Regions from separate parts of the Homo sapiens genome. Here region 1 is linked to region 2. Evidence: promoter capture Hi-C in 16 types of primary human blood cells and fetal thymus (Javierre and others, 2016). All regions are on one chromosome and are shown on one strand. The core of a region is centred on a gene start or on the middle of the fragment in contact, and the rest is flanking DNA. Distances in the headings are between cores, read along the strand shown.

Region 1 (3,512 bases), core at 529-3,028, 440 kb before region 2:
ACTGGAGCCTTGGTTATTGAGACAATCTCTTTCCCTCTCTTTTTTTTTTTTTTTTTTTTTTACACTGTGACAGGTCAGGTGTTATGCTTGGACCCTTTAAAACAATTGGTAGATTTTTTTTTTCCTGTTTTGTTTCGACAGGGCTAACTTTTCAAATTAAATCCTTTTATTGAATTTTCACCCTTGGATAGTTTCTGAAGATGCTGCCTTCGCAAAAAAAAAAAAAAAAAAAAAAAAAAAAAGTAAAATAAATAAAATTAGAACTGATACATTTCATGCTTTGTGAAAGCTAAGCCTGAGATGACAGTTTGGCATTATCAACCGCCATGCCTTCAGGGAGCACAGGAATAATGCTGGGTGTAAGAAAATGTGCAGATCACAGAGAGTGATGGCCTCATTGTTTTTAGGATAAAGCGTCATGTGCATTGGATGCCACAAGCCAGAAAACAGCAGCATATGCCCAAAAGCTTGAAAATGAAAGCAACCCGGGATGCTACCAATTCCATCCAGAGCTTCCTAAACTAGGGGTGCAATCATGGGAAACAGACCCTCAAGCTCTTTCACTAATTTTCTGTTGTGGAACTTTGCTACTCAAAGCATGTTTCACAGACCCGCAGCATGGATATCATCTAGGAGCTTGTTAGAAATGCAGACTCTCGGCCGGGTGCGGTGGCTCACGCCTATAATCCCAGCACTTTGGGAGGCCGAGACGGGCGGATCACGAGGTGAGGAGATCGAGACCATCCTGGCTAACACGGTGAAACCCCGTCTCTACTAAAAATACAAAAAATTAGCCGGGCGTGGTAGCGGGTGCCTGTAGTCCCAGCTACTCAGGAGGCTGAGGCAGGAGAATGGCCTGAACCTGGGAGGCGGAGCTTGCAGTGAGCCGAGATAGTGCCACTGCACTCCAGCCTGCGTGACAGAGCGAGACTCTGTCTCAAAAAAAAAAAAAAAGAAAAAAGAAATGCAGACTGTCAGGCCCCTACTGAATTACAATGCAGATCTTAACAAGGTCCCTAGGTGGGTAGCATACATGCTAAGGTTTAAGATGTGAGGCTCTAGCATTTTCAGACAACCTGGTAAGTGAGGTGAGATAGCCACTGGTAGCCCTGACAACTGGTCAGCCGGGTATGCCATCATTCAACATATGCTTAGTGAGATCTCTCTACATGTAGATGCCATGGCATGTGCTGGAGACATAATGTTTTTGTTTTGACATGGGATCTCACTATATTGCCCAGGCTGGAGTAAAGTTGCTATTCACAGTTGTGTTCACAGTGCACTACAGTCTTGAACTCCTGGGCTCAAATGATCCCCCTGCCTCAGCCTTCTGACTAGCTGGGACTACAGATGTGTGCTACCATTCCTGGCTCTGGAGACACAATACTGAATATGATATACATGGTCCCTGCTCTCATAAAACTTACAGACTGGTGGCGAGAAACGGTTGTGATCGAATAAACACGTAAAAAGAAAGTATAATTTCAAACAGAGAAGAACATGATAAAGAAAAAAAATAGTTGTATAAAAGCAATCAAAATAAGAAACTCATTTAGACTGAGAGTTTACGAGAGGCTTTTCTAAGAAATAGGCGATTAACCTGAGGTCTCAACCATCCACAGTAATCAATTATGCTCGATTGGTCAGGGTATGGGCAAGAAAGAAGGGTATTCCAGATAGAGAAAACAGCATGTACCAAGGCTTTATGGCAAGACACATACCCCTGTATGTTCCAAGAATTGAAAACCCGCCTAAAGGCCTGCAGGCAACGAGTGAGGAGAGGGCAGACTAAGATTAGGCTGAGGGAATGGGCAGACACAAGTTATGCTGGAGCTATAGGTCAAGATGAGAATTTAGCTCTTTATCATCAAAGCAATGGGAAGTAAGCAAGACTTTTTTTTTTTGAGACGGAGTCTGGCTCTGTCGCCAGGCTGGAGAGCAGTGGTGCGATCTCAGCTCACTGCAACCTCCGCCTCCTGGGTTCAAGTGATTATCCTGCCTCCACCTCCCAAGTCGCTGGGACAACAGGCACGCACCACCACACTCAGCTAATTTTTGTATTTTTAGTAGAGATGGGGTCTCACCATGTTGGCCAGGATGGTCTCTATCTCCAGTAAGCAAGACTTTTAAACAATGATGTGTTTACTTTTGCATTAAGAAAATATTGATCTGTTATGTAGCAAGAACTGGACCTTGGAATCCAAGATAACATCATCTGCTCCAGGGAAATGGAGACGTCACCACCAGAGCGAGCCCCCTGAGGAGGTGGGAAAGCTGCTCTGACCTGTTGAGCTCATTCTGTGTCAGGCACAGTGCTGGGCATGTTACATGTGGCAGCTTTGCCTGGGTTACAGAGGATGATGGTCAGCCTTGATCCCTAACCTGTGCCCCAACTGACTCTGTCAAAAAATATATTCACTCCCCCAAAAGGGAAACAAACCTTTAGAGATGAGAAATCTCATGGTACATGCATAGTAATGAAAAATGTGTGGTTTCTGGGGAGTTTGGGTTATAGGGTTGACCTGCTTTGTTTGGCTGTAAGCTGGTAAAGTGCAGGACCTTCTGCCTTTGTGTTCAGAAGAGCCAAGGACTGGTAGGCACAAACGGCAGTGATTAGGGTGCTTTTGAATTGTGAGGGATATTTTAGAAACTGGGAAGGTCTTGGAAATGAGATGGTCACTCTCTGGGCCAGCGCTGGGTAGCCTACAACAGCCTCATTGCTCTGTGGTAATTGTGGATAGTCCATTCTCTTCCTCTCCTCTACATCTGAGACCTCTTCCTTTCTCCCTGTCTTTTCTCCCCTCACCCTCTTCTATATACAGTTTCCCCCTTTTCTCATTTTCTTTTACCCCCTCACCTGGAGTGCTCTATCCTAGGCCTAGCGGTACCCCTGCAAATGCTTAGCCCTTCTGAGGATCCTCTGTACCAGAGAAGGGGAAGGAAACATTCATTGCTGGTGTTAGTAGGTCAGGCACTGTGTGAAGTATTGTATATGCATGGGTTTCTTGAATTCTCACCTGAATAGGCTCTGTGAGATAGACATCACTGTCCTCTACTTATTTACCATATTAGCTTAGCTATATTATTACTTAAGCTTTCTATGCCTTTGCTTCTTCATATGTGAAATGAGAAAAACAACCTACAACATTGTCATGAGGCTACAAAGTGTAGTCCTGTCCTTCACTGCAGCATAACCACCCGGAGTTGATAAGAACTACTGACAGGTGAGCAATTCACTCAACTGACTCTCCTCCTGCTGCCTCTCATGGGGACACACAGAAAAATTCTCTCTCTCTCTTTTTTTTTTTTTAATTCTTTCCAAGTGTTTTGTGAATCTCCAAACAAGACAGTGAGGCATGGCCTGGATGGTATCTGACAAAATAAGGAGACTGAAGAAACAATTCAACACAAAAGAGTAGCAGCAGCAACAACAATGAAACACTTTAGGAATCAAGAGTTTGGAAGTATTCTCTTTACCTGGAAAGACACTTTGATTGGATGAGAGGGCTGTG
Region 2 (3,389 bases), core at 174-2,673:
CTGGGACTGACCATGCCAGAGAACAACCGCTCATTCACGGGCTGGAAAGCCCCAGTTCTCAAAACACCCTCGCTTAGCGCTGTTAGAAGATGCTGGAGAGTTCCTGCCCTGAAACTTGCATCCACTTGGTCCCTAAAGCAGAGGATACACTAAAGAACACCTTATATACTCTCCACTGCAGTTCTCCCTTGTGGAGAAGAAGGGGTTAGGAGCTCCGCATGAAATTAAAATAAAATAAAATAAAACGCCTACATATATGGGTCTTCTTAATCTTCTTTGAGCCAGTACATAGGTCTGGCAAGTAAAGGGAAAGTCACTTGAGGGGATGTCAGCTTGCCTGGAAATTTAACCCTTTCATCTCTGTATTAGGAGAACTTTAACCCCTCTGTTTACCTGGTCTTCAGTTCCACACACCAATGCGACCAAGGCAACAGGAAATAGGGATTTGACTCCTCAGTTTGAAGCTGTGGCATTTGGAGAGGACTCTGATGGTGTTGGTGGGAGAGATGGGGAGGTTGGTCTCCTAGTAGGTGATGTTAACTCTTGGGGGAAGTGGGCAGAGACCAGTTTGCAGCATCTCCCATGTCCAGAAACCCTATTTCCCCCCAATTCTCCATCAGATCACACAGCCGACTTTAACCCTTTCCATCTTTCCACCCCTTTACCCTCAGTCCCATTCTACTCACGCTGCTGTTGTGGCCAGACCAGTGGACCATGGCTTGGTTGTGTGCTGAGTCTCCCGTCAGCGCAAACGTGGTGCTGGTCAGTCTCAGCTCCTCCATCCGGAAGCGGGTGGCTTTGTCCGGGTCCCGCTCCCGAGTCCCAGGCTCCTGCTGCCCTCCATCTCTTAGCACTCCCCGGGGGCTCCGACTCGCGCCCTCTCCCCGTTCTGCCTTCTCCTGATCCGCTCCGCTCCGTCTCCTCCGGCCGGAGCGTGCAGCAACCGCCATGGATGCCCCAGTGCCCCGAGCCCGCTCCAGGGATAGCGCTCGGTCCCCGGGGGCCACTGAGAACAGGGGACGCACTACGAGGGGCAGGGGCGTGGCAGGAGCCCTGCCTGGCCGCCCCTGGTGGGAAAAGCCCCTAGGGGTCGAGGCCGAGCGTGGAGCGGAGCTGGGGTGCGGCGAGGGGCAGCAGGAGCCGCCGCCGCAGACGCCCGGGGCGCAGAGGATCAAGAGCCCCGCGCCGGCGAGGAGCGCGCTCAGCCGGGCTTGGGAGCCGCCGCCGGCGCCAACTTTTCCCATCGCGGGAGCGAAGAGCAGCGGAGAGAGGGGTCCCAGAACGAAGGTGGCGGCACGAGCTCTGCGCTGGCGGCTGTGGGGGGCCGGCGCTCAGGACCCCAACTCCATCCAAGTTGCGCCGCGGTGGGGGCGGGCGGAGGCGGCGCCGGGCAGGTGGCGGCCGCTTGCCCGGGCTGGGCTTGTGCCGAGCGCGGGTCCGGACGGAGCGAGCCGCCGCCGCGCGGGGGTGGAGCTGAGCTGAAGTCACTGGCGGAGCGGGCGCGGGCGCTGGCGGGCGACGCGGGAGGGAGGGCAGGCGCTGCCGGGACTCCGGGCGCCGCGTCCCGCGGCCGAGCTGCGCTGCGCACCGGGTCTCCGGGCGCTGGAGGCGCCGCCGGCGACCTCCCCTCGGCCTCGCAGGCGCTGCCGCCGCCTCTCCCCGCCGCCCACTCTGCGCCCCCGCGGCCGCGGGTCCCGGCGCTGAGTCCGCGCACCCTGCCCGCGGGGGCGGTCGACCCCGGGCTCCCGGAGCAGTCGATGTGTCGGGAGCTTCCTATTCCTGCTTTATTGTTTCTATGAGTCTATGTTGCTGTTTCCTTTTTTCTCCGTCTTTCTGGTCTTTTCTAGTTGAGGAGATAGGGATGGGTGGGCTTCTGCTCCTTCCCTCTCTTATGCTTCCTGAGTTGGCATCTTGACCTTACCCGCAGCAGAGCCTGTGTGTCCCAGCCTGGGGGGAGATCCCGGAAAGGCAGCAGCAGAGAGTGATGTAATTAAATGATCTCGTGTGTGAGTGTGTGTGTGTGTGTGTGTGTGTGTGTGTTAGTTTGGGGGATTTTTTTTCCCATCAATTTTAACGCTTAGATTTCTCTCCTAACCTCCTAAAGCATTCACTGAATTTGAACCCAATCTTCCTGCATGCAATCATATTTAAGAAAACGCTTTCCACTACGCGTTTTTTAAGCGTATATATCTTGGTTTCCCTAAGAGACTGCAAACTCATTGAGGACAGGAAGATCAAATTTCGAGCAACTTGGAGGAAGTGACCTGTTTTTTGTTTACCATTTTCCTCAGTACGTGGCACAGTACCCTACATGGGAGGAAATCTGCCAGTCATTAGTTCAATAAATATTTATTGTGAGTCTAATGCATATCTGCATAACAAATAAATACAGGAAAGGAGGCACAGTACTTATAGTTATTCTGTGTCACTTGGTGCCTGGCCCAGTGCTACTGCCACATGCTTTGAGATCCCTAATAGCAAGTCTGTGATGGTGCTCTGCCACTGGTTTGCTTTGGGACCTCAGACAAATCACAATCTGTCAGCTTCCTAAGCTTTAAAATTAAATGGTCACATTAGATGACCTTTAAAATCCCTTCCGCTCCTAAAATTCTATAATTGTATGATTATAGTATCTGCCCAGCCTAGCACCCTGCTACTATTCGTAAGTTCAGATGAAGATTTATAGCAGGTGAATGGGCTTTGAAAACGGCAAAGGATTTCTCAAAATCCAATCCTTTTTAAAGTAGACAGTTTGCTTCTAAGGGTTGAAATGGTTTCAGATTTCTTTGCAGTCTTCATATACGTAATATTCTCTTAGGTACATGTTATTACATTATTTAATGAATATTTACTGATTGAATAAATGAATGACACAACAAAATAGTACCGATTCCAGTTTCTAGTTACATTTTTGTTCATTTTCATACTAGAATAATAACCTCACTGAAAAATCTGTATACCGTGTTTGCGATGAGGCCAAGTTCAAAGTAATACAGAGTGATAATTACTCTTCAATTAATGAAATTCTTTCTAATGTCCAAGAAAACGTCTGTTATATCAATCCAATCCAGAGAGGTGTTGTAAAATATCGGCCTAAGTTCTTGTTCTTACGACCAGCGCAGAAAAAGTGCAAATGCAAGGAGGGCAGGCTTCTCAGCCATTAAACTTGAGTACCTAAAAGGACCTAAAAGAGTGTCCTGTTTGTCGTTAAAGAAGAAATACAAGCAAAAGCTCCTTTATGCCTGAATCCTCCAAAACAGAAAGGCTGTCTGGCAGGCTATGGCCTCTAGATGGAGGAGAGGAGAGCCAGAGGTCCTCTCTCCTCCTCAAATTGCAAATGTTCTTTGTCAAAACCCAGAGCGGTAGTTTTTTCTTTCCTCAGAAAGGTT

The links. Contacts are between HindIII fragments. The CHiCAGO score rates a contact against its expected background, and 5 or more counts as called.
Region 1: a contact is called between a fragment that was not itself captured here and the fragment with the promoter of SORCS1 in region 2, in 1 of 17 cell types (erythroblasts). The highest score is 5.8, in erythroblasts.

The regions. Positions count from the first base shown.
Region 1 is chr10:106,726,147-106,729,658 of GRCh38, forward strand. The region is part of intron 6 of SORCS1 (sortilin related VPS10 domain containing receptor 1); the gene reads right to left. Among named protein-coding and RNA genes, the nearest start is that of SORCS1, 440 kb to the right of the region's middle. The HindIII fragment of the contact is 2,627 bases long and covers 466-3,092 here.
Region 2 is chr10:107,163,283-107,166,671 of GRCh38, forward strand. It overlaps SORCS1 (sortilin related VPS10 domain containing receptor 1), which reads right to left and starts at 1,424. Exons shown (of 26, transcript NM_052918.5): 1 at 687-1,424. The coding sequence starts at 1,244. RefSeq lists a silencer at 1,140-1,333. The HindIII fragment of the contact is 2,762 bases long and covers 1-2,550 here.